Regions from separate parts of the Homo sapiens genome. Here all the other regions are linked to region 6. Evidence: promoter capture Hi-C in 16 types of primary human blood cells and fetal thymus (Javierre and others, 2016). All regions are on one chromosome and are shown on one strand. Each heading gives the region's core, a stretch centred on a gene start or on the middle of the fragment in contact. The rest is flanking DNA. Distances are from core to core; before and after follow the strand shown. Region 1 overlaps SYNE1 (spectrin repeat containing nuclear envelope protein 1). Region 2 overlaps SYNE1 (spectrin repeat containing nuclear envelope protein 1). Region 3 overlaps SYNE1 (spectrin repeat containing nuclear envelope protein 1). Region 4 overlaps SYNE1 (spectrin repeat containing nuclear envelope protein 1). Region 5 overlaps SYNE1 (spectrin repeat containing nuclear envelope protein 1). Region 6 holds the start of ZBTB2 (zinc finger and BTB domain containing 2). Region 7 overlaps SYNE1 (spectrin repeat containing nuclear envelope protein 1).

Region 1 (3,576 bases), core at 1,056-3,555, 900 kb after region 6:
CAGCATCTGTCTGCAACCTCTCAGCAGACAAGGCTTGGTAATATGCAATGTCCTGTGAGTGCAAAGCACAGTATTGAATTAAACAAAAAGACAAAGTCTAGATTAATATGCTCTGGGTACTGTTGGTCATGTCAAGGAAAGGTTTCAGATCTACACCTTTCATGGGGCACTACAAACTAGTAAATTAGTAAACTCTTGTGACAAGAAAAATGTAAAGACTGTATCAAAGCACACTGTAATTGTTTCAGAATTTTGGTTTATATATATCAAAAAACAACTTTACCAATATTTCAAGTTGCCAAAACTCAATCTTATTCTATGTTTGTTAAATGGAAATACAAAGGATTTAAGCAGTACACATGTATTTAAAGGTTGATTAGAATAGCAAAAAAAGAGAATCTTAATGATCTAGTTCCTAAAATGTTGTCGAATGTATTCATTAAAGTTTTAAATAATTTAAAAACTACTTGACTTAAATAAAATTAAATCTACAGATGCAGCCAGATCTTCACTATCTGTGGGTTCATCATTTGCTGAATTAATTTAAATATTTTGATATTAAATAAGAAAAATGTAATGGGGAAGTTACCACTACTCTAAGAAACAAATAATATAAAGGTTTTCTATGCATTTCCTAAAAGTATACACACAAAAAAAACAAAGTGAATGATGAAATATCATGCTTTCAAATTTTTTAAACCTATTATAACATTACATATTTTATTTGTACTGATAAAATTTACTATATCAAGAGATATAGTAAAGATATATCAAGAGATATAGTAAAGATGGTTTTTAACTGTTTCTATGGTTATTTATCTGTATTTCAGTAGAAATTTAATTGGGGGAGTAATTGCTATTATAAAGTTCATTGCTTTTGCAGTTGTACTGTTGAAGGGAATTATGTCAGCTTAAAATACCTGAGTCTTATTGAGAATCATGTATTGGTAAAAAGTATTGAAGAAGGCTCCAGCCGTCTGAGAAACAAATGTAGCAGTGTCATGCGGTAGAATGAATTCAGACTGGGACAGCTGAGATTCTAGCGAAATTCTCCTCTTGTGTAGCTATATAATTGGAGCAAATAACTTATATCTTGCACACTGGTTCACTCATTGGTCCAATCTTGGGTGGGATTGAGGATTATATGAAATAATATTTGAGTGACTATGACAGCTTCTACCCATTTTGTTGTTGTTCCTGAGGTCTCCAGATGAGTCCCCAACATTTATTGATGATATTGGAACATGGAGACTGCTTCCTCTTTATTCCTAACCCTGTCACTGTCTTGAGTGGATTACTCTTCATGTCCTTAATAGCTTTAGATCCATTGATCCTCACTCACTCCCACCCCACTTCAGTCCTCCACACCCTTGTATGCTGTCATCGCTCAGCTGGACTTGTAGTTATGTCTGAAGTTACTTAAACCCCTTTCTTGCCAAGACTCTTGTTTCTCTTGCTCTTTTAACCTTTACTTCATCCACTTGGAAACCCGCAAACATGACTCAATCCAGAGTCATTTATGCATGTGTGTGTGTTACTGACACACACACACACACATACACACACAAACACGCACACACACACATACACATGCAATCCAAGCTGTCAAGGAGATACTGCAACTTCTCAAATTTTCAAAAGTCTATGTATATTCACACTCACCCTTATCTTATGCTTTCCAGTTTCACTGCTTAAACCTGACTCTCCCACAGACTCTGAGAATCCCATAAACTGCTTTTTCAAGGATCTTGGTCTATTAACATCCTCTCTGGCTTTGTTGACTTTCTCTCTTCCATCCAAAAACACCTGCACGCACTGTTTCTTTTATTTGTTTTCTTGAAGGATATCACATTTTCTAAAAAGTCCACAGTTCACAATGTGACGGATCGTCACACGTGAATGCACTTGCACACACAGGCTCCATCCTAATTTCTTTGTTTTCTCCCTTTCATTTCATAATCCAACTTCTGAAAGGGTGATTTTCATGGGACTTTCTCACCCTCGATCCACTTCTAAATTCCAGTTTGGACTTTGATCCTGATGACTGCAGAGCTTGCTCTCACCAGCTTCTTCTCTTTGACAAAAAATGATGAATTTTCATCCCTTCCCTTGCCAGACCTCTAGCATTCAATAGCACTGACAAACCCTTTCCGGAAACACTTTCTAAAAAATCTCTCTGTTCTCCTCCCAGCTTTCTAGTCATTCACTCTTTCTCTTTTATAGTTTGTTTTCCACTCACTCGCCAATATTGGTGAATTGATAAGCTCCAGACTCACATATCCAGATGTTCATGCATATCCTGTAGGCTCTTCAAAGTCAACATTTCCAAAAGGAACCAATTTAGGAAAAAACAATGAAGTATTATCCATCTTGCAATAAATGGAATGTCTTCTCACCTAAGCTATAAACTTGGGATTTATTCCTGATTTCTCCTCCCCCTTAACATCCACTGCTTATGGGAGGATGGAGTGCTAACGATGCATATCCTGGCCACAGCCTTGGTTCAAGTTCTCATTACAGTAACAGCTTCCTAACTCAAAGGTTGCAAACTGGCAGCCTGTGGGCTGCCTCTGACCTGCACATATTTAGTGTGGCTTATACAATGTTTTAAATTGTTTAAAATCTCTCTTCATGAAGATAGAGAGATTTCATTAAAATTCACATTCGTAGCTTGTTTTGCAAACCACAAGGTATGGTAACACTGGGCCCTGTGTCTTTGTTAAAGTAATGCTAACAGAGGAGACATTGCCTCATTTATGTGGAGCAGGAGCTGTCCAGGCCTCTGTAGTCCCTCCTGGCCTCTGTAGTCCCTCCTGGCCTGTTTCTCTCATTTTTATCACCAGGGTGGACCAAGCATGAGACTGTGTAACTTCTGTTTCTAACAGCTCCCCTGGCTCTGAATTTGCACACTTCTATTCTCCTGTCCACATTGATCCAGAAGTATCAGTTCTGTACACAGCTTCTCATTAAATTCCCTCAGTGGTTAAATATTAGCTTCTGGAGGAAGCTGAAATTCCTTCCTGTGGCATTCAGGGCCTCCATGATGTGGTTCCCATATCCCTCTCAGTCTCATTTCCCCCTCTCCTCCTCCTCCAATGTTTCTCCAATTACACTGAAACTATTTGCAGTTGCCTGGATGGGCCATTTTGCTTCCCGCCTCCACAGCTTCCAACAGGTGGTTTCTTCTGCCTGAAAATCTTCATCTCACACGACCCAACTGCACTCCAACTGCCTAACTGTGCTCCTCCCTTAAAACTAAAGGGGGCCATCCTTGACCTCTGCCTGACTCCAGCCAGTTTAGGTGCCTTCTCTAGGCCCTCCCACAACACTGTACTGCCCTCGGCCACACTACCTGCCACCTTCTCTTGTAAGCATTTGCCTGTCCTCACACACACTGTAAGCTCCCTAAGGGCTGTCTGGGTCACTGCTTTTCGTCTTCATCCTGAGCACATTGTGGAGTGTTTGGCAAATAACAGGCAGGCCTATATGTTCATAATAAATCATGCTTGTAAATGCACTTATATAAATTCTATTATTTTATATACATGTAAAGTAATACTATTACTGTCCATAAGG
Region 2 (3,594 bases), core at 1,072-3,571, 940 kb after region 6:
ACCCGCCTCAGCCTCCTAAAGTGCTGGGATTACAGGCATCAGCCACTGCACCTGGGCACATTTTAAATTTTTATAGATATTAAGAAATGTCTGGCTTAGCATTTTGGTGACCCATGGGAGAATTTCTGTTACCTGGCCAAGTTATCCCATTCTGTAGTAAATTTTTCTAGGAACACTTCAACAACATTCATACAGTCATGGTAATCTCTTGTTCTCTGAAGATCCTCTTCCCTTTGCAAGCACAGGTTGTTAGACTGACGGCACAAATCGAGCCACTGATCATTTAAATGATTTATTTCCTTGTGTTCAGGCGATTCCTCCTTCTTTGTTAACTTATTCACCTTTTCTATTATGGTGTTCACGGATGCCTGTTTGCTCTGTAGTTTCTTAACAAAATCCTAAAGGATAACAGCAACAAAAAATATGTAATGTGTTAAGAAATGCCCAAATAAATATAGAGAGCAACACAGACATAAGACCTTTAAACACTCTAAGTTCCTTAATATGAAAAAAACTGAAGAATGTATAATAAGTTATGGGAAACAAAGAGAAAATCTAAAAATCACCATACCTCTTTATGAACGTTAATTCCCACGTGTGCAAGATTCAGGGTAGCTGTGGTATATTCTTTTATTGTACTATTCCAAGAGGCATAAAGAAAAACTAATACATGTGAAACATTACAGTCATTAATGAAAAAAGTCATTATCTTACCTTGAAGTGCGGCCTTTGTTTTCTAAGAATTTTTAAGGAGTTCATGTTTTTCAAAATTTATTCTTAAACTAAGGGTGCTTTTATTCTCAAGACATCAGGACATTAGGACATTTCCTAGGTCTGCTAAGTCCTGGATCTGTCAAGTTCTGGATCTGTTCAGTAAACATTATTAACCTGTTCCCTTAACTAAATATCCTGTGACTAAGAATGCCTAACTTTCTGGGAATGCAGCCCAGCAGGTCTCAGCCTCATTTTACCCAGCCCCTATTCAAGATGGAGTCGCTCTGGTTTGAACGCCTCTGACGGAAACCTTCCAAATGTCAGAGACAAGGCAAAGTAGCTTGGGTCACCAGGTGGGCAGTGGTGTTATGTACAGAGTTGGGGAAGGCTGGAGTACATTCGCAAAGTGGAAAGGCAATGGTTTAGATTCATCTACTCCCTGCATACACAGCAAAAAGAAACCTCTAAGATACCATCTCTGCCAGCCCAATATGTGGCCAGAGGATCATTTCTTTGGATAGTGTTTCCTCCAAGGGGTTGGTTCATGGACTTCCATACTTCCCCACTGCTCACTCCCATTGCCATTTACTCCCACTACCCAAAAAACACCTCTTAAATCCCCTGACTGATATATGAAATTTTGTCCTTAAAGCTAGGTTCAATCACAATTAAAATGTTAACAAGAGTATCATCTTGAATGTTTTTATTATGTGTATATCTAAAACAAATACAGCAAAATATTGGCATTGTTTATTATCTCTGAATGGTAGTATCATAAGTGATTGTGATTTAAATTTGCTTATTAAGACATTTCTGTATTTTCTAAGCCTTTTATAATAAACAAAACTTTTCTTATAAAATACATTTTAAAAAATTAAATTTCTAGGATGGTTCACAAATTTTTTTAAAAAAGAGTTCATGCTTCTGAGAAAAAATAAATCTTATTATCCCGATCCCTATTCTCTTTTTTCTCTGTACTTGCAAACAGCACTCCAGTAGACAATATATTATTATTGACTCATAATCACAGAGAAAAAACATCTTTAAGTTTATTTAAAATCTGACCCAACTTCCAATTAAGTTAATACACTTATAATTTTCTTTTTTCCCTTTTTTTTGAGACAGAGTCTCACTCTGTGGCCCAGGCTGGAGTGCAGTGGCATGATCATGGCTCACTGCAACCTCCGCCTCCCAAGTTCAAATGATTCTCGTGCCTCAGCCTCCCAAGTAGCTGAGATTATAGGCATGTGCCACGCAAGGCTAATTTTTGTATTTTTAATAGAGATGTGGTCTCACCATGTTGGCCAGCCTGGTCTCAAACTCCTGGCCTCAAGTGATCTGCCCACCTCAGCTTCCCAAAGTGCTGGGATTACAGGCATGAGCCACCACACCCGGCCACAATTTCCTATATATTTTAAATTATTTAAATTATATATAAATATGTAATACAAACTGCATTTATATTATACTTTAAATTAATTACATATAGCTCAAATATATAACTAATGAATTGATAAGCTTACAGTCCTACAGTTTTAGCATAATATGGTGATGAAAATCTAAAAAAAGAATAATGTTCCATGTTTGCTTAGTCACAGAGTTTTCTGACTAAGCAGTCTACTCTGTAGACTAAATCACACCTGCTTTTCTCAGGAATAATGTAGAGTATGAATGTCTTCTGATGAAAGTGGCCATCTGAAGCTTCAGTAATATATTTGAATGTCTACTTTATAATCTGTTTTCCCTGGCACCAAATGATGTTTGTTCAGATTTGCTATTCCTTAAAGCAGCGGTCCCCAAACTTTTTGGCACCTGGGATGGGTTTTGTGGAAAACAATTTTTCCGTGAATGGGGCTGGAGGGGGATGGTTTCAGGATGAAGCTGTTCCACCTCAAATCATCAGATATTAGTTAGATTATCATAAGGAGCATGCAACCTAGATCCCTTGCATGCGCAGTTCACAGTAGGGTTTGCACTCCTATGAGAATCTGATGTGGCCTCTGATCTGACAGGAGGTGGAGTTCAGGCATTAATGCTTGCTCGCCTCCCACTGTGCGGCCAGGTTCCTAACAGGACATGGACTTGTGCTTGTCCATAACCTGGGGCTTGGGGACCTCTGCCTTAAAGAGTTGTATTAATGTCTAAGGATTGACAGACACTCAGGCATATTGAAGTGAATACACTGAACACATTTCAGGTTTTCTACTCTGTTGGCCTCTTTTATCTCCCTTGGGGGCAAATTAATTCCCACCTTAACTTGTGAAACCATGTTCTGTGCAATGTTCAGCTCCAGCTCAGAGTGCCTCCTCTTCATGTTCTGCAGTTGCTGATCAGCATCTTGCAGGTAAATCCAGAGCTCAGACTTCAGGTGCTTGATCTCTTCCCAGCCCTGAGTTAAGTTCTGGGCCTGGACAAGCTTTTGTTCAATCTTGAGAAAACACAGAGATAAAAGTTAGCAACCATACATGGAAACATTTATGGTTAATGAATCAGAGATGGAACTTTCCAGCTGGCCTGTGCACTCATTTGACACACACATACACACGCAAACTCACACACACAAATACATAAATTTAAAAAGTACTTCTTTATTTGCTTCAGGAAAAGCAGATTTTTTTTAAAAAAATGTAGGGTTCCTAAAGACTTTAAATGTCTACAAGTTATGCTATATGGTTTTAATCAGTGTTGTGAAACTCTAATAATTTTTTTTTTTTTTTGAGACAGAGTTTCGCTCTTGTTGCCCAGGCTGGAGTGCAATGGCACGATCTCGGCTCACAGCAATCTCTGCCTCCCGGGTTCAAGTGATTCTCCTGCCTCAGCCTCCTGAGTAGCTGGGATTACAGGCTTGCGCCGTCACACCCAACTAATTTTGTATTTTTA
Region 3 (3,225 bases), core at 354-2,853, 890 kb after region 6:
ATTAGTTTAAAAGAAGCTATAAAATTATGGGTTTGGGGTATACTGGCAAAGGTTTTCCCTATCCTAAGATTAAAAAAAAAAAATCATACATTGAGTACCTTGCAGACTTAAGTTTTATATTGAAATCTTTGATCCACCTGTGATACATTTTTCTGTAAAATATGGGGTAGAAAATACAGTTTATCACGTTTCAAGTGATTATTTACAGAGTGAGTCATATTTTGTCCACTGATTTGTAATGCCACCTAAAATATTTATCAAATTCCTTTACATACCAAATCTCTTTCTGGAATAGTTATTGTTTAATTTTCTGTTCACATATTTATTGCGCCAACACCAAACTATTTTAATTATTGTAATATTGTATTTTAATATGTGATTAGACTGGCCGGGCATGGTAGCTCACGCCTATAATCTCAGCACTTTGGGAGGCTGAGGTGGGTGGATTGCCTGTGCTCAGGAGTTGAAGACCAGCCTGGGCAACATTGAGAGACCTCCATCTCTACAAAAAATTAAAAAAATTAGCTAGGCAGGTGGTGCGCGCCTATAGTCCCAGCTACTCAGGAGGCTGAGGTGGGAGCATTACTTGAGACTGGGAGGCAGAGGTTGCAATGAGCTGAGATTGCGTCCCTGCACTCCAGCCTGGGTGACAGAGCAAGACCCTGTCTCAAAAAAAAAAAAACAAAAAAAAATCCACACACATATATGATAAGACTAATAATCCCTCAAAACTCTTCATTTTCAAAATTTTATATGGGATATTACATTATTCCTCTAACTTGTTTTTTGTCTATGTAAAAACTATAAATTCTCGACTTCTTTTTTTTTTTTTTTTTTTTTTGAGACAGGATTTCACTCTGTTGCCCAAGCTAGAGCACAGTGGCACAATCTCGGCTCACTGCAACCTCTGCCTCCCAGGTTCAAGCAGTTCTCATGCCTCAGCCTCCCAAGCAGCTGGGATTACAGGCATGCCCCACCACACCCGGCTAATTTTTGTATTTTTAGTAGAGATGGGGTTTCACCATGTTGGCCAGGCTGGTCTCAAACTCCCGACCTCAGGTGATCCACCTGCCTTGGCCTCCCAAATTGCTGGGGATACAGGCGTGAGCCACTGTGCTCGGCTGACTTCATTTTTTAATTTTTATTTTTTGTTGGATTCTTTTATGCTTTTCAATGACCTAACTTCATATTTTTAATAAGCCAGTCATCTTCCTAAATTTCTCCATTGCTTCTAAATAGTTTTTAGTTGATTAAGTTTGGTTTTCCATATCATATAATCATATCATCAGCAAAAAGCCGAAAAAAAAAATACATAGGTTAGTCCTAACAATCATCCTCACACTGAGAAAACAGAAGCAATCACAGTGAACTTCCATGAAGTTTCCGTTAACAATATTTATGTCCTACTTCCTACCAGTATTTGTATTCCAACATAGATGCTTTCCCTCCCTCCTCATTTTACTTGGAGAACAGATTGGCCTGGTCTCAACCATTATTGCAGGAGAAAGGTGTAAATGGTAAAGGAAGGCACAGTTTGGATTAGGCCACAAGAAGGAGCAGATGATACCATCAGATGCTTATAGGGTTGGGGCAGCTAATGGGCTTCTAAACTATTTGGTCCCTGGCTTACTTAGCAAGAAGGGTAGGGAAGACCAAACTCTGCACTCTTTTTTTTTTTTTTTTTTTTTTTTGAGACGGCGTCTCCCTCTGTCTCCCAGGCTGGAGTGCAGTGGTGCGATCTCAGCTCACTGTAACCTCTGCTTCCCAGGTTCAGGTTCAGGAGATTCTCCTGCCTCAGCTTCCCAAGTAGCTGGGACTACAGGCGCCCACCACTATGCCCGGCTAATTTTTGGTATTTTTATTAGAAACGGGGTTTCACCGTGTTAGCCAGGATGGTCTCCATCTCCTGACTTCATGATCTGCCAGCCTTGGCTTCCCAAAGTGCTGGGATTACAGGTGTGAGCCACCGCACCTGGCCTGTGTACTTTTTATCCTATCCGTTTCCTCCCCAACAAGAAGATTGTTCTTGCAATCACACTCCTTTTTCTTTTTCTTTTTTTTTTTTTTTTTTTTTTTTTTGTTATGAGACAGAGTCTTGCTCTGTCGCCCAGACTGGAGTGCAGTGATATAATCTCGGCTCACTGAAATCTCCACCTCCCAGGTTCAAGCAATTCTCCTGCCTCAGCCTCCCGAGTAACTGAGATTACAGGTGTCCACCACAAGGCCCAGCTAATTTTTTTTTTTTTTTGTATTTTTAGCAGAGATGGGGTTTCACCATGTTAGCCAGTCTGGTCTCGAACTCCTGACCTCAAGTGATCTGCTTGTCTCGGCCTCCCAAAGTGCTGGGATTACAGGCGTGAGCCACGGCGCCCTGCCCACATTCCTTTTTCACCAACTTTTCCTCTATTGAGTTATTTCCATCAACGTGTAAACTTATTATTTTTCTGATCTTAAAATGAAATACTCAAATTGTGATGAATGTAAAAGAAAAAAAGAGATAAAATTTTCTTTGACCCACTTCTCCTTATAGCTTATCTCATTCCTCTATATACCACTTTACAGCAACACTCCTGGAGTAGCCTTTACTTTCCCTCTCCAGTTCCTCTCCTCTCATTGTTACTTTCATGTCAGAGTGCTTTTTGCCTCCACCACTCCGCTGAACAGCTGTTGTTAGTAGTCCTAACAAAATCTATTTGCAAATGTTTGCCAAAGTCCAAGAGTGTAAACTTAAAGCTGCATGCTAAAATGTCAGCGTAAAGCAGGTACACACACAAGTACGCGTCACCGCCAACCTGTTCCTTTACCTGGCAAACCTTAGAAGGAGCACGTGAACAGTGTGCCAACTTTCAGCTGTGGGCCAGCGGCTGGAACCCTCACCTGCATGTTGAGCTGCTTATCATGCAGGGCTCTCTGCAGCTCCAGCAGGCTCCCCTTGAGCCTTCTCAGCTTTCCAGCCAGCTGCTCGGCCTCGTCCTTGGTGTGAGCTTTGCCCTCCAGCAGCAGGTTCTCATTGTGGACTGACAGTTCTGATAAAGCCACCACCTTCTGCTCTATTTCCACCAGCATATTCTGCAGCAACAGAAATAAGAATGAAACTCACACATCTCCCCAGCCTCTGCAAAGACTGTTTCCCACAGTGAAATACAGCCCTTTGGAGTCTTTTACGAAACGGACAGGCTTTCATGATTTTTTGTAGTTTTCCCACGGCCTTGACGAGTAAGTAGT
Region 4 (3,532 bases), core at 366-2,865, 930 kb after region 6:
GCTGGCTTGCAGAATTCCATGCAATAGTTCCATGAGCCAAGACTTTAGCTTTTTCAATCCACTTCAAAATTAATTCAAGCATTTCATTGTATTCTTCTAAATGTGATGCTGCCTGAAAAACCAGTAACATTAATGTAACAAATGTAAACTCCTCAGTTTCTTGAGCTATAAATCAGTCTTCTCTCTCTTTGGACACAACAGTCTTAGGGGTTGATCATTATAATACCTATGATATTCAATGGTATCAAAAGATCGTTTCCCTGTTAAAATCTGTCAAAGCTTTCTCAGTGACCTTAGGATAAAGCTCAAGTTCTTAATATGATTGAATTATTCCTCTTTTTCTTTCTTTTTTCTTTTTTCTTTTTTTTTTTTTTCCAAGGTCTTACTGTCACCCCGGCTGGAATGCAGCAGCTGGATCATGGTTAATTACAGCCTCAATCTTACGGGCTCAGCCTCCCACCTCAGCCTCCCACGTAGCTGGGACCACAGGCACGTGCCAACCATGCCCTGTTAAATTTTTGAATCTTTTGTAGGTTTCACCATGTTGCCCAGGCTGGTCTCAAACTCCTAGGCTCAAGTGATCCTTCTGCCTCAGCCTCCCAAAGTACTAGGATTATAGGTATGAGCCACCATGCCAGGCCTTCCTCTATCCCTTCCTTCACCCTCCCCTGGGTAAGGAGGTGGCAAGTGGGGATTCTAGCAGGCAAAGTTTCAAACTATAATTAATGGGTTACCAACTCCTGGTTTTAACTTGTCCCTGATTATATTAATCGATTTCAAAAGTCTAGTCTATATGCAACAATTATTACAGACGTGCAATCTGAATCTATTAAGTCAACGTAAGCTGATATATATGTAGCTTACTTAAAGGTACTTGAATTCACCCCAAACTGATTTCATAAAACACGTTAATGGGTGAATATTCATTCTACAAAATACTTCTCCATTTTACAAAATATTCACTCCAAAGTCCATTTGTAGGACCACCTTTGTCAGTGACTTTATCATATGGCTGGATATAAAGTAAGTGCTGGTTTATACCTAAGTCTTAGGATCACAAGTGTAGCATGAAATAAGCTACACCTAAACTACTCTCTCATTGTCCATTTTATCTTTTTATTTATGTTAATTTATTTTCAAAAGAGAAAAGCAGAACATGGAAGTTTCTGCCTTACACGATTTGGATTTCTGGCCCGGAACACATACCTGATTGAGCTTGGAGAGCCGATTCTCAGCTTGTCTAATGGTCTGCTGGTGAAGTTCAGTCAGTTTTCCTATCTTCTTGGCCAGTGGCTTACCCAGTTGGCCATTCTGTTCCAAGAATTTCTGTACTGCTGCATCTAATTCCATTAACTTTGAATTACAGCCATCTAATTCCTCTCCCAGCACCTTGATGGTCACCAAAATGAAAGAACATTAGAGTACAGAAAATAAATTTCTCCAGGTTTCCCGAGATCAGACTGATTTTTGTCAAAGCCAAATATTATAATGAATAATTCTACTATAATTCTACTATGATCAGGTCATTTTTGTTTCTTCGGTTGGAAAGGCAGGGCAGGATATGTTGTAATGCTGGTGTTTATTTCCTATGAGGCTGAGTGAGAAGGCTAACATTTTCCTTCTGCCCCACCCAAAAAGGATTAGAGTCCCTGAACTCATCAACAGAGGAAGAACACAGATTTAGCTACCAAGGACACAATTCAGTTTGGAATTTATATACTTGTATTCCTAAATCATCACTTAGTCCTTTGACGCTCTTCTTTCGTACACACTCATGCATGTATATTTATTAATACTGTTCAATTATAATGATCAATTATGTAAGAGGATCTGTGTTGCTTCAGTTACAAAATTTCTTTACCACCTGCTGTTACTATTTGGTTTTAAAAAAGGTTCCTAAAAGGTTTTTATCCTATATCCCCAAGTAAAACTGACTCCAAAAACTATTTAATTCATTCAGTAGTACCCTTTAAAATTCTACTTCTTACCTTTTGGTCAGTTTTAGCTTGAACTACATTATCTGTCTTCGCTTTCAGCTTAGTTAGAATAGTTGTGAGGTCTTTAGCTAACTTCTGAATTTGCCGGCTGAGTTCCTGGCTCGTGGCCTTGCTCTGCTCAACTTCTTTTATTTTGTCTTGGATCTAAAAAAATCAGTAAGAACAGCAAAACAAGCCATGGTTAAAAGTGAATAATAGATACTAAAAATCTCAAATGATGTTGACAAGACACATTTTAACTGCTTTGGCATTGAAACACCTGGTCACACCAGCGATGTGCGATTAGTTACAAGCCCTCCTGGCTTTCCCTGACTTCACTATCTTTAAGTATTTACTGCACTCCTTGTGTTCCAGCAAAGATACAAGCAATGTGTGTAGAGAAATTCACTTATTAAATATTTACAGAATACTCATTATAGATGGTTGTGTAGACAGCTGAGTTTGAATCCTATCTTCTCCATTAACTAACGTAATGACCTTGAGCACACAAACTCCTCTAAGCCTTTTTCTTCATAAGATGGAAAATCCTCCCAAACAGTTGGAAGCACACTGATTTGTTTCCAAGCACCTTTTAATAAATGACTCTTAATGATCTGTTAACTCTTTTTGTAACTTTCCGACTACAGCTCTATAGTATGCCAACCAAGCATTAAGTACATCCAATGGAAAGGAAGGTGAAAAAAGACAGTTCGCATTTACAAATTTCCAGTGACTTTGGTTTGATTTGATAACAAACATTCACACTGTTGCTTAGAATAAAATGCCGAAGAAAAGACATTAAAGAGAAGAAACATTTCTTTATGTAGTTAAAGGTCTTTAAAAAAACCTCTTTAGTAGGGAGAAAACACACCATTAAAAGAGAGTTAATGGTGTGTTTTGGCCTTCATTATTTTGAGTGTCAAAGTAAATGAAATACATATGAATAAGGCTATGATAGGAAAATTAATCCAGAGAAAAGCTTAAATTTTAACTAAAAAAACAAACAAACAAACAAAGAAAAACCATGGCTGTGCACAGAGGTGCACACCTGTAATCCCAGCACTTTGGGAGGCTGAGGCAGGCAGCTCACTTGAGGCCAGGAGTTTGAGACCAGGCTGGCCAACATGGCAAAACCTTGTCTCTTTTTACTAAAAATACAAAAAATTAGCCGGGTATGGTGGTGCATGCCTGGAATCCCAGCTACTTGGGAGGCTGAGGCACGAGAACTGCTTAAACCCAGGAGGTTGCAGTAAGCTGAGATTGTTTCACTGCACTCCAGCCTGGGGGACAGAGCGAGACTCTGTCTCAAAAATATAAAAAGACCATGAACTTGCCAAGTCATCCTTCCCAGTAGATCTTCCAATGTCTAAGAAGAAAAGCCAAATATATCAATTAAATACTTAAAATAGTAAAGAGCATTTATCAGTAGTTTAGGTCAAAGTCATGATGCAGTAGGATCAGATTTTGATGAGATTTTTAAAACACTTTGCATCATACATTGAAGATTCCAAAAGTAGAGCACAACTGTATGAGTTTTACAGTTTGTACAATGGGAT
Region 5 (3,549 bases), core at 655-3,154, 840 kb after region 6:
AAATTTTAAAGACAACCGAGGAAATAGGATTATGCGTTGAACATAAAATAATATTAGAAATTATTAAACTTTTGGTGGTGATAATAATATGGATGCATTAAGAAAATGTCTATTTTTCAAAGATATATATTGTATGTAAGAATAAAGTGACATGATGTCTGGTATTTACTATGATATCTATTTTAGAAAAAGAAATAATTTAGGCAATTTTTTTTTTCTTGGAAACAGGGTCTCACTCTGTCACCCAGGCTGAAGTGCCATGGTGTAAACATGGCTTACTGCAGCCTCGATCTCCTGAATTCAAGCAATCCTCCCACCTCAGCCTCCTGAGTAGCTGGGACTACAGGGACAAGCACCACCACGTCTGGCTGATTTTTGTAGCTTTTTGTAGAGAGAGGGTTTCACCATGTTGCCCAGGCTGCAAATCTTGACAATTATTAAATCTGATGCTCAGTATACAGGGTTCATAGCATTTCTCTCTACTTACGAGTATGTTTGAAAATTTTCATAATTTCAAATTTTTAAAAACGAGTGAAAAAAACCTAATGTATTTTAAAAAAAACCCTATAAACTCACAAAATCAGCAAAATTTGTTACTAAATGCAACTTTTAAATATTTAAAAAAATATTTAACTTGCAACTCTCAAGGCCTATAAACATATTAGCATACGCTATGAAATTGTGAGATGGTGCATGTTAGCCACCTGGACAAGTTACCTGACAGTCTTTCAGTGCATTTTGAACAGAAGCCTGATCTCCAATTCGATGCTGTTGTTTTAGTCTCTTTTCCTGGGTTTCAAACCATGTTTTCAGACATTGTACATTATTTTCATATTCTGACCAAGATTCCAATAAGCCTTCCAACAGCTGGATCTGAACAAACACAATAAAATGAAATTTGCAACTTTATTTTAATAAAATCAAATCATTAGCAGACTAATTATTCTAGCCAGTATTTTCTCCAAATTAAGAATTCTTAAAATACAGTTCATCGTATATATGATTTAAAACAGGGGTGTCTAATCTTTTGGCTTCCCTGGGCCACACTGGAAGAAGAAGAATTGTCTTGAGCCACACATAAAATAAACGAACACTAACAATAGCCGACGATCTAAAAAAAAAAAAAATTGCAAAAGAATCTCATAATGTTTTAAGAAAGTTTACGGATTTGTGTTGGGCTGCATTCAAGGCCGTCCTGGGCCGCATGCAGCCCGCGGGCTGGGCAAGCTTGATTTAATAAATGAATTTCATAAAGTATGAATCAATGACTATTACTGGGAAGCAAGAAAGGACTAAAGTCAACTTGAAGCAAAGGCAAAATAAATCAAGAGGCATCTTTAGAAAACTGAAACACCATAAAATATACAAAGAGCAGAGAATGTATAAGAGAAAATCATCAACAGGTTAAAGGAAGTTTAGGGTGATTAACCTTCAGCGGTATTATTGGAAGCGTTCTTTGCCCAGTATAGCCACGCTACTTGTGAACCCAGTCTTCCTTACAGAGTGTGCCTGTTCTTGGGGTTTTCATGTAAATCTGGACAGTGGGAAGCCACTGGCTTACCTTCTCAGTTACTAGACCTTGCAGAATTTGCCAACTTTTATTCATTGCTCCAAGTTGCTCAGCAAAATCAGTCTTATCACTACGCTTACTTTCCACATCCTGACTGCTGATTTGTAGCACGGACTGGTTCACAAAATCCACTGTCAGCTGTTTACAGTTAATGTCTATCTTAAAACCCTAAAAAAAAAGAGGAGAAAATAAGATTATACAATAAATGTCTCATTAGTTTTCCAGGAGTTGGAAAGCCTTAAGTAACCTTAATATTAATATTATCACTTCCATAACTCAGCTGAAATGGCACAATTTGTCTGTGTTCACACAACCCATTATTTTTAGAAGCCGAATATATATTTGTATACGTTTATATGAACATAAACACAGATATACGTGTGTATGTGTGTGTGTGTGTGTGTATATATATATTTAGGTAGAAGATTTAGAACTAGATAAATTATATAACCTCACTATAAAATATTTATAAATTTATTTTTATAATTTCTGTAATTCTTTAATAACACAAAATTATTCAAAATCATTCCTAGTACTGGATATTTCTTCTTATTTCTATAACTGATAATGCATTTTTCTTGCTATTGAATTCCTATCTGGTCACTGTGTAGGAAACATACATTCCAAGACTTGATTACCATAATTTGAGTTTTTTAGTTCTTTCAAATAAAATGGTCTGAAAATATGAAAAGTTAAAAACAAAAAATTTTAATTACCTTATATTTCTGAAGGTATTCATGAATTGCCTTGTAACCTATGGAATTTTTAATATTATCTTCATCCTTCTGAATAACATTTTCCATTAGAGAAATCCAACTCATGACTTCAGAAATGGCATGGCGGGAAGGCAGTTTATCCATCTGGAGCTGTCCAAGTCAGGGAGAGAACCAGTCCCAAGTGTTAAAATGGAAACCCCAACTTCTGCTAACTTAAAAACCCTACAATAATTCTTAAAAATGTACCAAGAGAGATAACACTCCTTAATGACATTTGGAGATCTTACCCTTTCTGAAAGCTTGAAGTTAAACATCAGGCAAATGTTGAGGAATAATAGTCATTTTATGTTCACTTGATATCCAATACTGTAAACACTGTATAAACATTAACTAATTAATCAAAGCACCAGAAAGAAGAGAATATTATTCTTATTTTATAACTAGTTTTATGAGTCTAAAAAAACTTAACCAGAAAACATTCAACAGATGTATTTTATTAATTATCTTGTAAAATCTCTGCATATTATGACTCAGGAATGTTAAAAGAAGAAAGAAAAATACCACACTACAAGCTATCATTTTCTAGAGTTTTTGGCACTCTAATCTTTATTCCTAAGAACATAGCCAATTTCCTCAGCCCTTAGCTGATATACACTACTTACAATTCGAAATCTTACTTAACATATCACACATTTATGCATATGTGTATTACGATGATTTGGAGGAACAAAAGCAATCATTTAAAATCTTTGTATATCAACTTCTGTGTGGTGCTGAAAGATATAGCAATGAACGTGGGTTGGTTCCTGCCCTCTGGGGGCGCACAGCTGTTGCTTAGGAGAGATTAGGCATGTACACAAAACACAGCTATCCTGCCTGAAACACAGTGATGAGTGTCAAAGAGAGATAAAGATAAAATGTTCTGGGATTTCAGGGGAGGTGGGTGTATTTTCAGATAAGAGGATTATTTACATCTACTGAATGCCAGTTGCTCTCCTATACATAAGATATTTTTAACATATATTACGTTCTAAATCTTCATAACCACTCACTTTATGAGAAAAGTGTATGTAACTGTCCACATTTTATCTGAGACAAAACAGAGTTTAAACAAAGCCAGACAAACATTCCAATACACATACCCACACCCACATACACACATTAAAGAAACCCTCAGAGGAAATGCCTTTGGGGCAGGGCTTTGTAGCGTAGTTCACTCTTTTTTTTTTTTCTGGAGACAGTCTCACTGTCACCCAGGCTGGA
Region 6 (3,410 bases), core at 225-2,724:
GGGCCAAACCGGGCTGTATCGCAGGCGCAGATGGCGCGTCGGGCGGAAGCTGGAGGCCGCCGGCTCAACACGCTCCGTACCCGGGACTGGGGCCCGGCCTGCAGCCTCAGCGAGCAGGCGACAAGGGCGGCGCCACAGAGGCCGACGCGTCCCCCGCCCGCCTGAGCGCGCCGCAACAGCCACCTCGTCCCACCCGCCCCGGGGCGGGGCCGGGGGCGCGGCGCCGGGGCCCTCTGGCCCCCTCCGGTCTCGCCGGCCCCGCCCCCTCCCTGTCCCCGTCCCCGAGGGGCTGAGGGGGAGGGAGGGGCGACGCACTCCGGCCGCGTTGCACGCTCGCCGCTTCCCTCAGTCCCGCGTGCGCGCGCGCGCTCGCCCCAAGTCCCGCGGAGTTTAACACAATGCCGACGCCTACGCCGTGCGCAACGCCCCGGCCGGCGCAACAGCCCCGGCGCCGGGGGCGGGGGTGGCCCAGACAGGGAGAGAGGGAGAGGGATGAGCGCGCGCGAGAGCCGGAGACAGCGCGAGACCCGAGGAGGCCGGAAGCGCGCGTGCGCGCCCCCGCCCGCGAGCGGGAGGCGGAGCCGCAGCAGTAGCGGCAGCAGCTGTAGGAGCCGCTGCAGCTGGGAGAAGCGCCAGAGAGGCCGGGCCTGCTCCGGTCGGACCGGATCCCTCCCCTCCCCCTCCCTCCTCCCTCCCCTCCCCCAAACCCACTTCCGCAGCTCGCGGCCTTGCCGCCGAAGCAGCAGCGGCGGCAGCAGCAGGAGGCGGCGGCGAGGCGTCGGAAGGATTACGCACCTGACGGGCCCGCCTCTGAGGGCTCCAGCGCGGGACGCTCACCGGCCGCCGCCGCCCAGGGCGCACTTCGCGGTGGCGGCGGGAAGGGAGGGACCGGCCACGGGGAACCGAACGCGAATCGCCCCCCTCCCCTTCCTCCCTCCCACCCTCCCTCCGATCCGCCGCCCGCCCTCTCGGCTTCCGTCCCCTCCCCCTCCCACAAAACCCCGGATGGAGGCGCCGCCGACTCGCCGCCGCCTGGCTCCGGGGGATGGTTTTGTCAAGCGGCCAGAGCCCCGGCGCCAGGCGCAGCCGCCGCCGCCCCCGCGAGGCGCCCCTGCCCTCGCTTCCCAGAACCGGGTCCCCGAGTGGCCCGGGCCTTCCGCCTGCCTGCACCCGTAGCCCTGGTACGAGGGTCATTCGTCGTCTTTGTTGCCACCGCCTCTGCCGGAACCGTTTGCGAGCTCCGGTGGCCCCCGCCCCCCCACCGCCTTCCCGGACCCTGGGCTGGGGGTGGCACGTGGGCACCGGCCCCGGGAGGCGGAGGCGGTGCGCGCTTACCTGTCGCCGGTGCTGCTGCGGCGGGGGGTGTGGAGGAGGCGCCTCTGGGCAGCCTCGGCCGTGCTGTCCTCCCCGCCGCCGCCGCCTCTGCCTCTCGCTGCTGCTGCTGCTGCTGCCGCCGCGGTCGGTGTCTCCGGCGCGGCGGCGGCGGCGGCGGCGGGGCTTTTCCTGTCCGGTTACGTTAAGGTCACATGACCGAGAGAGCGGAGAGACTAGTGCAAAGAGGCTGCGAGCGGCTCCCGCCGGGGGGGAGAGGCGGCGAGAGAGCAGTGGCGGCAAGAGCCCCCTCCGCCCCCCCCCCAGCCGCTCCCCTCCCCCCGCCCGCCTCCGCCTCCTGCTGCTCTGCCGCCGCCGCCGCCGCCTGCAGCACTCCACTGCCGCTCCCACCCAGGCTCCGCGCTCTGCTCCAGCCAAACTTCTGCAGACCATGTGCAGCCGAGGCGAGGAAACTTCTCTCCACCTATTGGGGCTGGAGGCCTGAGTCACAAGCCCCTTGTTTACATAAAGTGTTTAGGTAGCACAAGTCCTTGAGATGCTCGGGGTAGAGATGGAGAGCCACTGCTCGTATCCTTCTGCCGGCTTCTGCTTGAGATCTCTTGGCCTTTACCCTTGTCCCTTGACTTTTCGTGTTTGTTTTAATCTTTAAGACTTGAAATGGAGTGGCCTTTAGAACCGGGGAGATACTGTAAACCAGCAGTATCTTTGTGTCACCAATGGTAACTGAAAGTCATGCTGAAGTACAGATTCCTGTAGCGTGCACAGAGGCAGAGGTGCTTCCTTTACCTTGCAGATGAGTTGAGCGGCGTAAGATGTTTCTGTTAGGGTTGAATTTCATGGTTATTTCAGCAACGATTTTCGTTTTTGAAGTTTTGGCCCCCCCAAAAATGAAAGTCTGCAACGCATGTTTGTTAAGAGAACAGTTTATTCTCCTGTTAGGTTTTGGTCTTTGAGGTATGGATTCCAGAGTTGGCTATTCTGTTAGATTTAGAGGTGTGGAAAATCTTTTAACGGGGAGATCCTGAAACACGGAAACATGGCAGGGAAGTTAGAATTTCCTGATGGTCATTTTTAACATTTTAAAGTTTACTTTTTGGTTGTTGCCATTTTTCTAGAATCCGTGTCTTTTTTGGGGAAATACAGTCCTTTGAGGACTAGAATTTAATGATTTCTTTACACATCTAGGATTTTTTGAGATTTAGAAAGGATATGGCTTTATTCCTAAGGAAGTGGAGGCAGCAGTTTCTAGGATACTCTGGTTTCAAGGCATGCTAACTTGGTTGTGATGTCTAACCCATTTTGGTTTACACAGTCTGACCACTAGCACAATGCCTGGCACATAGTTTACAAATCATTTAAGGCAAGCTTACCATCTTAAGACAATTTAATACATAGAAGTGTCCCTCCTAAAAATCTGAGTTTGATTTAGAAATCCAGTTATACCTGCAGGTACTGATGACTAATTCCTTCTTTGAAGACAAAATAAGCAGCTGTGTAGCTTCAGTGGCTCTCAAATGGATAATAGATTCAGTGTATACTCGCTTTGAACTTTCCTGTTTTTTGATCAGCTAGATAAATGACTTTAGTGGGTAAATGTCTGCCTCCAAAACCAAATTCTGACCCTGATCTAAGTATTCTACTGCACCGCTGTCACTGGAATATCAAAGTTGGCCTTCAGACTGGTGCCTGGTTCCTTGGATTGGCTTGAGTATTGAGGTCTGTCTCATCTTACTAGGGAACTAAAATGATGTTGATTGTTTTGTAGAGAATTGTAATTAGAGATCTGTAGGTTCTTAATTCTTTTGGAATTCCATTCTGAAAATTTTCAACCTTATGGTGTTGGTGGAGTGCTCATGTGAAGAGTGAAACTGACTTAAGAATAAAAGAAAAAGTGGGCAAAACTAATGCTAAACTTGAGACCATTGGGCAGAAATTTGCCTGTGTGTGTAGAGTAATTGGTCTTGAGTCAAAGTAACTATGCTTATTTTTAACATCACTGAATATTTTCTAGCGTTACACTCTATATAGGCTTGTAGAAATAAACCCAGGGGTAAGCCCAGAAATTGAATATCAGTCCT
Region 7 (3,435 bases), core at 765-3,264, 860 kb after region 6:
TGCTGTTATTGCCTTTTTAATCCAAGTTGGGTAGGCATGGAATTAGCACGTTCATTAGTTGCATTCCATTTATTCAAAGAAAAAAATCTAACTGGTTATTTCTTCATCTGTGACATTCAGTTATATTGGTCAAAAATTAGTAAAAATTATTACTTGTGATCATACATATCTCATAATTCATATTAGAAATCCAAAGCAAGACATCACTACAGTTGCTCCAGTCTTTTTTGGAATCACACATACATTATAAGCCAAGAAAAAAAACAAAAAGATTTTTCATGGGGAGAAATGAGAAATCTCTTTAAAAAGCAGATGAAATTATGGTCAAGAAAAATGCACAGCCGGATGCGGTGGCTCACACCGGTAATCCCAACACTTTGGGAGGCTGAGATGGGAGAACTGCTTGAGCCCAGGAGTTCAAGACCAGACCAGCCTGGGCAACAAAGTGAGACCCTATCTCCATATTAAAATATATATTTTTTATTATATATATATATATATATATATACACACACACACACACACACACACACACACATATATTTTTAAAAATAAATAAAAAGAAAAATGCACACTCACAGTTTTGCAAACTATTTTGAGAGGTGTTCTTTAACACACACACACACACACACACACACACACACACATATTATATGTCAGATTATTCTCTATCGTCTATCCATAGATTCCCGGGAAGTTCGCTGAAATTAAATCAGAGAATTCTATTAAAACACATACTTCTCACAATTACTTAGCTTATGAAACAGGAGATATTCTAACATCCCTCCCATTTCTTCTATCTGCATTTTCATGCCATCATGCCAGTTTGGGTTCTCATTCTTTCTCTCCAGTACAGCTACATGAAGCCTCATGATGGATCTCCTGTTTCCTGACCCTGGTGCTGTCATGTAAACTAACCAGAAGCAAGATCTAGAACTGCCATTCATTTTTACCTGCAAACATCCCCTACAACTTTCCATGGCCAGGGATCTCCCAGCTGAGTCTAAACACCCAAGAGTGTGCAAGATGATTTACCAGGATGAAACACCACATCTTTCATTTATATTCAACCACATTAATTTTCAATTTTGGTTGTAGCATGTACACAAACAAAAATTGAAAATAAATTTGGCTGAATTTAATTGTGATTTATAACATAAATTGCTTATAATTTATAAATAAATAAAAATACATACACTTATGCTGCATATTTATTTCCTTTTTTTTTTAGCTAATGAGGCATGCAACAAATAAAGTGTACAGGTAACTAGTTTATAGAATAAAGTCCAAAGTCACACATTCAACAGGCCCTACAAACTGCCTTAAATTTACATATCCAATCTTGTTTGTCCTCAGTCACTTTCATTTATCTTAAATTCAGCTAAAATAGAATTACCTGTGTTTTTCCCTAAGTGCTCAGAATTCTCTAACAATTTGTGCCTTTTTTCTTGCTGTCCTCTTTACCGTGATATCTTTCTTTCCTGTTGTTGTGTGTCCAAACTCTTAGGTTCAGTTCAAATTTCCCTCTACAAAGCTTCCCTAATCCTACCCCTGCTGGAGGCCAGAAGGGTCTGAGTACCCATAATGCTTTGTCAGTACCACTCCCAGGACAGTTTGACTTTCTGCCCTATGTCATTGAGGTTCATATCTAATCTCATCATTGGGCAGAAAACTCCTTCAGGTCAGCATCTGCCATGGATACCTTTTCCCAGCTCACATTTCCTAGTTCTGTGCAGATGTAAGTAACAGAGTCAATGTCACCTGGTATGTTATTCAAACCCAGTACTCAAAAACAAAAATACTACAAACAAAAGTGCCACTGTGAGCCATTAATCTTTCATAGAATATTCAAAATTTCATAGTAAGTCATATCTCCTCTATGCATTTTCTCTTCTAGGAAAAGGCAGCTATAAATACCTCTATTTGTTCTGCTACGGGCTGTTCAAACACATTTGCCAGTTTTTGCAGAATGATGTATTTGTTGTCAGCCAGTGATGTAAACAGCACTTTCAGATCATTCTAAGGAGGAAAGCAACGGGAAAACTCAAAATGTGTAACAGGGAATTCAAAATACTTGTAAATATAACACAGATTCTAAGAAATAACATAGAGGCACAGAAATTTAATTTCCAGGAGAAACAATACTGTGCTATGGGAAGGTAAAAGGAACTGGTAACAATTTACTTATGTGCTAAAACTGACTCCTGAAGAATCTGTTACCCAAAGTATTTTCTACATAACACAAATGAAGTTGAACCATACATGTAAAAAGCAACGCTTGTCACCCTAATCTCATTACATCCGAAATAAATGAGCACAGTCAAACATTGCACAGAAATATTATATTAGTGGCTCTTATCTAGGGAAATAACCTATAGGTGTTATCCTGATTTGGGAAATAATATGATACTTAAGAATCATATGATTTCCATTTTGCTCTCTCCTCTTCTTCCCTCCCTCCATCAGTTTCTTCTTCTATTTTTGGAAAATTTGCACAAGCTTTAAAAAAGCCATCCAGAAGTTTAGAAAATAAATATTATCCATGATGGCCAAAAACATGTGAAGAGACAACACAAAAAGATCTTGTTAGGTATTTTGTTCAAAAATATTACTCATTTAAATGTCCAAATATATTTATATTGAGTTAGATTTGTATAAAAAGGAGACAACTATCAGAACTTTGGTACTTAATTCCACAGGGAATAATAAATTAGAAGAATATTTAAATTATAAAAAATTTTGGCCAGGTGCAGTGGTTCATCTCTGTAATACCAGAATTTTGGGTGCCTGAGGCAGATCACTTGAGGCCAGGAGTTCAAGACCAGCCGGGGCAACACAGTGCACCCGGTCTCTACAAAAAGTTTAAAAAAAAAATAAGTGGACACAGTGGCATGCCTGTAGTCCTATCTACTTGGGAGGCTGAAGTGGAAGGATCCCTTGAGTTCAGGAGTTTGAGGTTGAAGTGAGCTATGATCACGCCACTACATGCCAGCCTGGGTGACTTTATCTCAAAAAAAAAAAATTACCAAAAAAATGTATTTTTTTCTCTAAAATATCAACAAATAAGTTCTATTTCATAATAGTCAGCAAAAATATATTTGTCAGAGGTTAAAGCTCAACTCAGGACCTCTTTACCAGGGCCTGATCACGCACATCACCAACATGCAAACATTCTGACTGTCTAATGAGTGGAAGGATAATCGTACCAAGGAAGAAAAACATCTATAAGAACATGTGAAGGCTTTATAATGTAAATTCAGGTCTAAAAAGCAAAATAATGGGTGCATTATGCAGTAAAAATTATAAAATTGAAAATATAGCGCTGAACATGAGAACTAGAATAGTTGCCACTAACCAAAACTCAAAGCAATCTGCAAGTCTAGTGGCTAACTAAATAGGAAATTATAATAACAGCCCTGGAAAAATCCTAGAAAC

Evidence for each region. The method cuts DNA at HindIII sites, captures the fragments that hold promoters and counts their contacts. A CHiCAGO score of 5 or more calls a contact.
Region 1: a contact is called between a fragment that was not itself captured here and the fragment with the promoter of ZBTB2 in region 6, in 11 of 17 cell types (non-activated CD4 T cells, naive CD8 T cells, total CD4 T cells and 8 more). The highest score is 21.1, in non-activated CD4 T cells.
Region 2: a contact is called between a fragment that was not itself captured here and the fragment with the promoter of ZBTB2 in region 6, in 4 of 17 cell types (non-activated CD4 T cells, total CD4 T cells, naive CD8 T cells and 1 more). The highest score is 7.4, in non-activated CD4 T cells.
Region 3: a contact is called between a fragment that was not itself captured here and the fragment with the promoter of ZBTB2 in region 6, in 7 of 17 cell types (naive CD4 T cells, fetal thymus, total CD4 T cells and 4 more). The highest score is 14.1, in naive CD4 T cells.
Region 4: a fragment that was not itself captured here is called in contact with the fragment with the promoter of ZBTB2 in region 6 in 4 of 17 cell types (naive CD4 T cells, total CD4 T cells, activated CD4 T cells and 1 more); the score reaches 6.5 in naive CD4 T cells.
Region 5: a contact is called between a fragment that was not itself captured here and the fragment with the promoter of ZBTB2 in region 6, in 6 of 17 cell types (total CD4 T cells, non-activated CD4 T cells, naive CD4 T cells and 3 more). The highest score is 13.8, in total CD4 T cells.
Region 7: a contact is called between a fragment that was not itself captured here and the fragment with the promoter of ZBTB2 in region 6, in 6 of 17 cell types (total CD4 T cells, naive CD4 T cells, naive CD8 T cells and 3 more). The highest score is 10.5, in total CD4 T cells.

The regions. Positions count from the first base shown.
Region 1 is chr6:152,294,076-152,297,651 of GRCh38, forward strand. SYNE1 (spectrin repeat containing nuclear envelope protein 1) reads right to left here. Exons shown (of 146, transcript NM_182961.4): 94 at 1-52. Among named protein-coding and RNA genes, the nearest start is that of SYNE1-AS1, 85 kb to the right of the region's middle. The HindIII fragment of the contact is 5,328 bases long and covers 1-3,576 here.
Region 2 is chr6:152,333,876-152,337,469 of GRCh38, forward strand. It overlaps SYNE1 (spectrin repeat containing nuclear envelope protein 1), which reads right to left. Exons shown (of 146, transcript NM_182961.4): 76 at 2,966-3,142; 77 at 133-398. Among named protein-coding and RNA genes, the nearest start is that of SYNE1-AS1, 45 kb to the right of the region's middle. The HindIII fragment of the contact is 183 bases long and covers 2,231-2,413 here.
Region 3 is chr6:152,275,212-152,278,436 of GRCh38, forward strand. It overlaps SYNE1 (spectrin repeat containing nuclear envelope protein 1), which reads right to left. Exons shown (of 146, transcript NM_182961.4): 98 at 2,878-3,069. Among named protein-coding and RNA genes, the nearest start is that of SYNE1-AS1, 100 kb to the right of the region's middle. The HindIII fragment of the contact is 7,041 bases long and covers 1-3,225 here.
Region 4 is chr6:152,316,875-152,320,406 of GRCh38, forward strand. It overlaps SYNE1 (spectrin repeat containing nuclear envelope protein 1), which reads right to left. Exons shown (of 146, transcript NM_182961.4): 85 at 1,989-2,141; 86 at 1,207-1,389; 87 at 1-112. Among named protein-coding and RNA genes, the nearest start is that of SYNE1-AS1, 62 kb to the right of the region's middle. The HindIII fragment of the contact is 2,676 bases long and covers 278-2,953 here.
Region 5 is chr6:152,229,830-152,233,378 of GRCh38, forward strand. It overlaps SYNE1 (spectrin repeat containing nuclear envelope protein 1), which reads right to left. Exons shown (of 146, transcript NM_182961.4): 113 at 2,287-2,436; 114 at 1,562-1,738; 115 at 718-873. Among named protein-coding and RNA genes, the nearest start is that of SYNE1-AS1, 150 kb to the right of the region's middle. The HindIII fragment of the contact is 1,358 bases long and covers 1,226-2,583 here.
Region 6 is chr6:151,390,085-151,393,494 of GRCh38, forward strand. ZBTB2 (zinc finger and BTB domain containing 2) reads right to left here and starts at 1,475. Exons shown (of 3, transcript NM_020861.3): 1 at 1,336-1,475. It overlaps LOC124901232 (translation initiation factor IF-2-like), which reads left to right. Exons shown (of 3, transcript XM_047419613.1): 2 at 1-388; 3 at 621-3,410. The coding sequence ends at 1,520. RefSeq lists silencers at 37-966, 1,047-1,436, 1,447-1,506 and an enhancer at 1,488-2,360. The HindIII fragment of the contact is 3,903 bases long and covers 1-2,695 here.
Region 7 is chr6:152,247,244-152,250,678 of GRCh38, forward strand. SYNE1 (spectrin repeat containing nuclear envelope protein 1) reads right to left here. Exons shown (of 146, transcript NM_182961.4): 105 at 1,918-2,019. Among named protein-coding and RNA genes, the nearest start is that of SYNE1-AS1, 130 kb to the right of the region's middle. The HindIII fragment of the contact is 965 bases long and covers 1,533-2,497 here.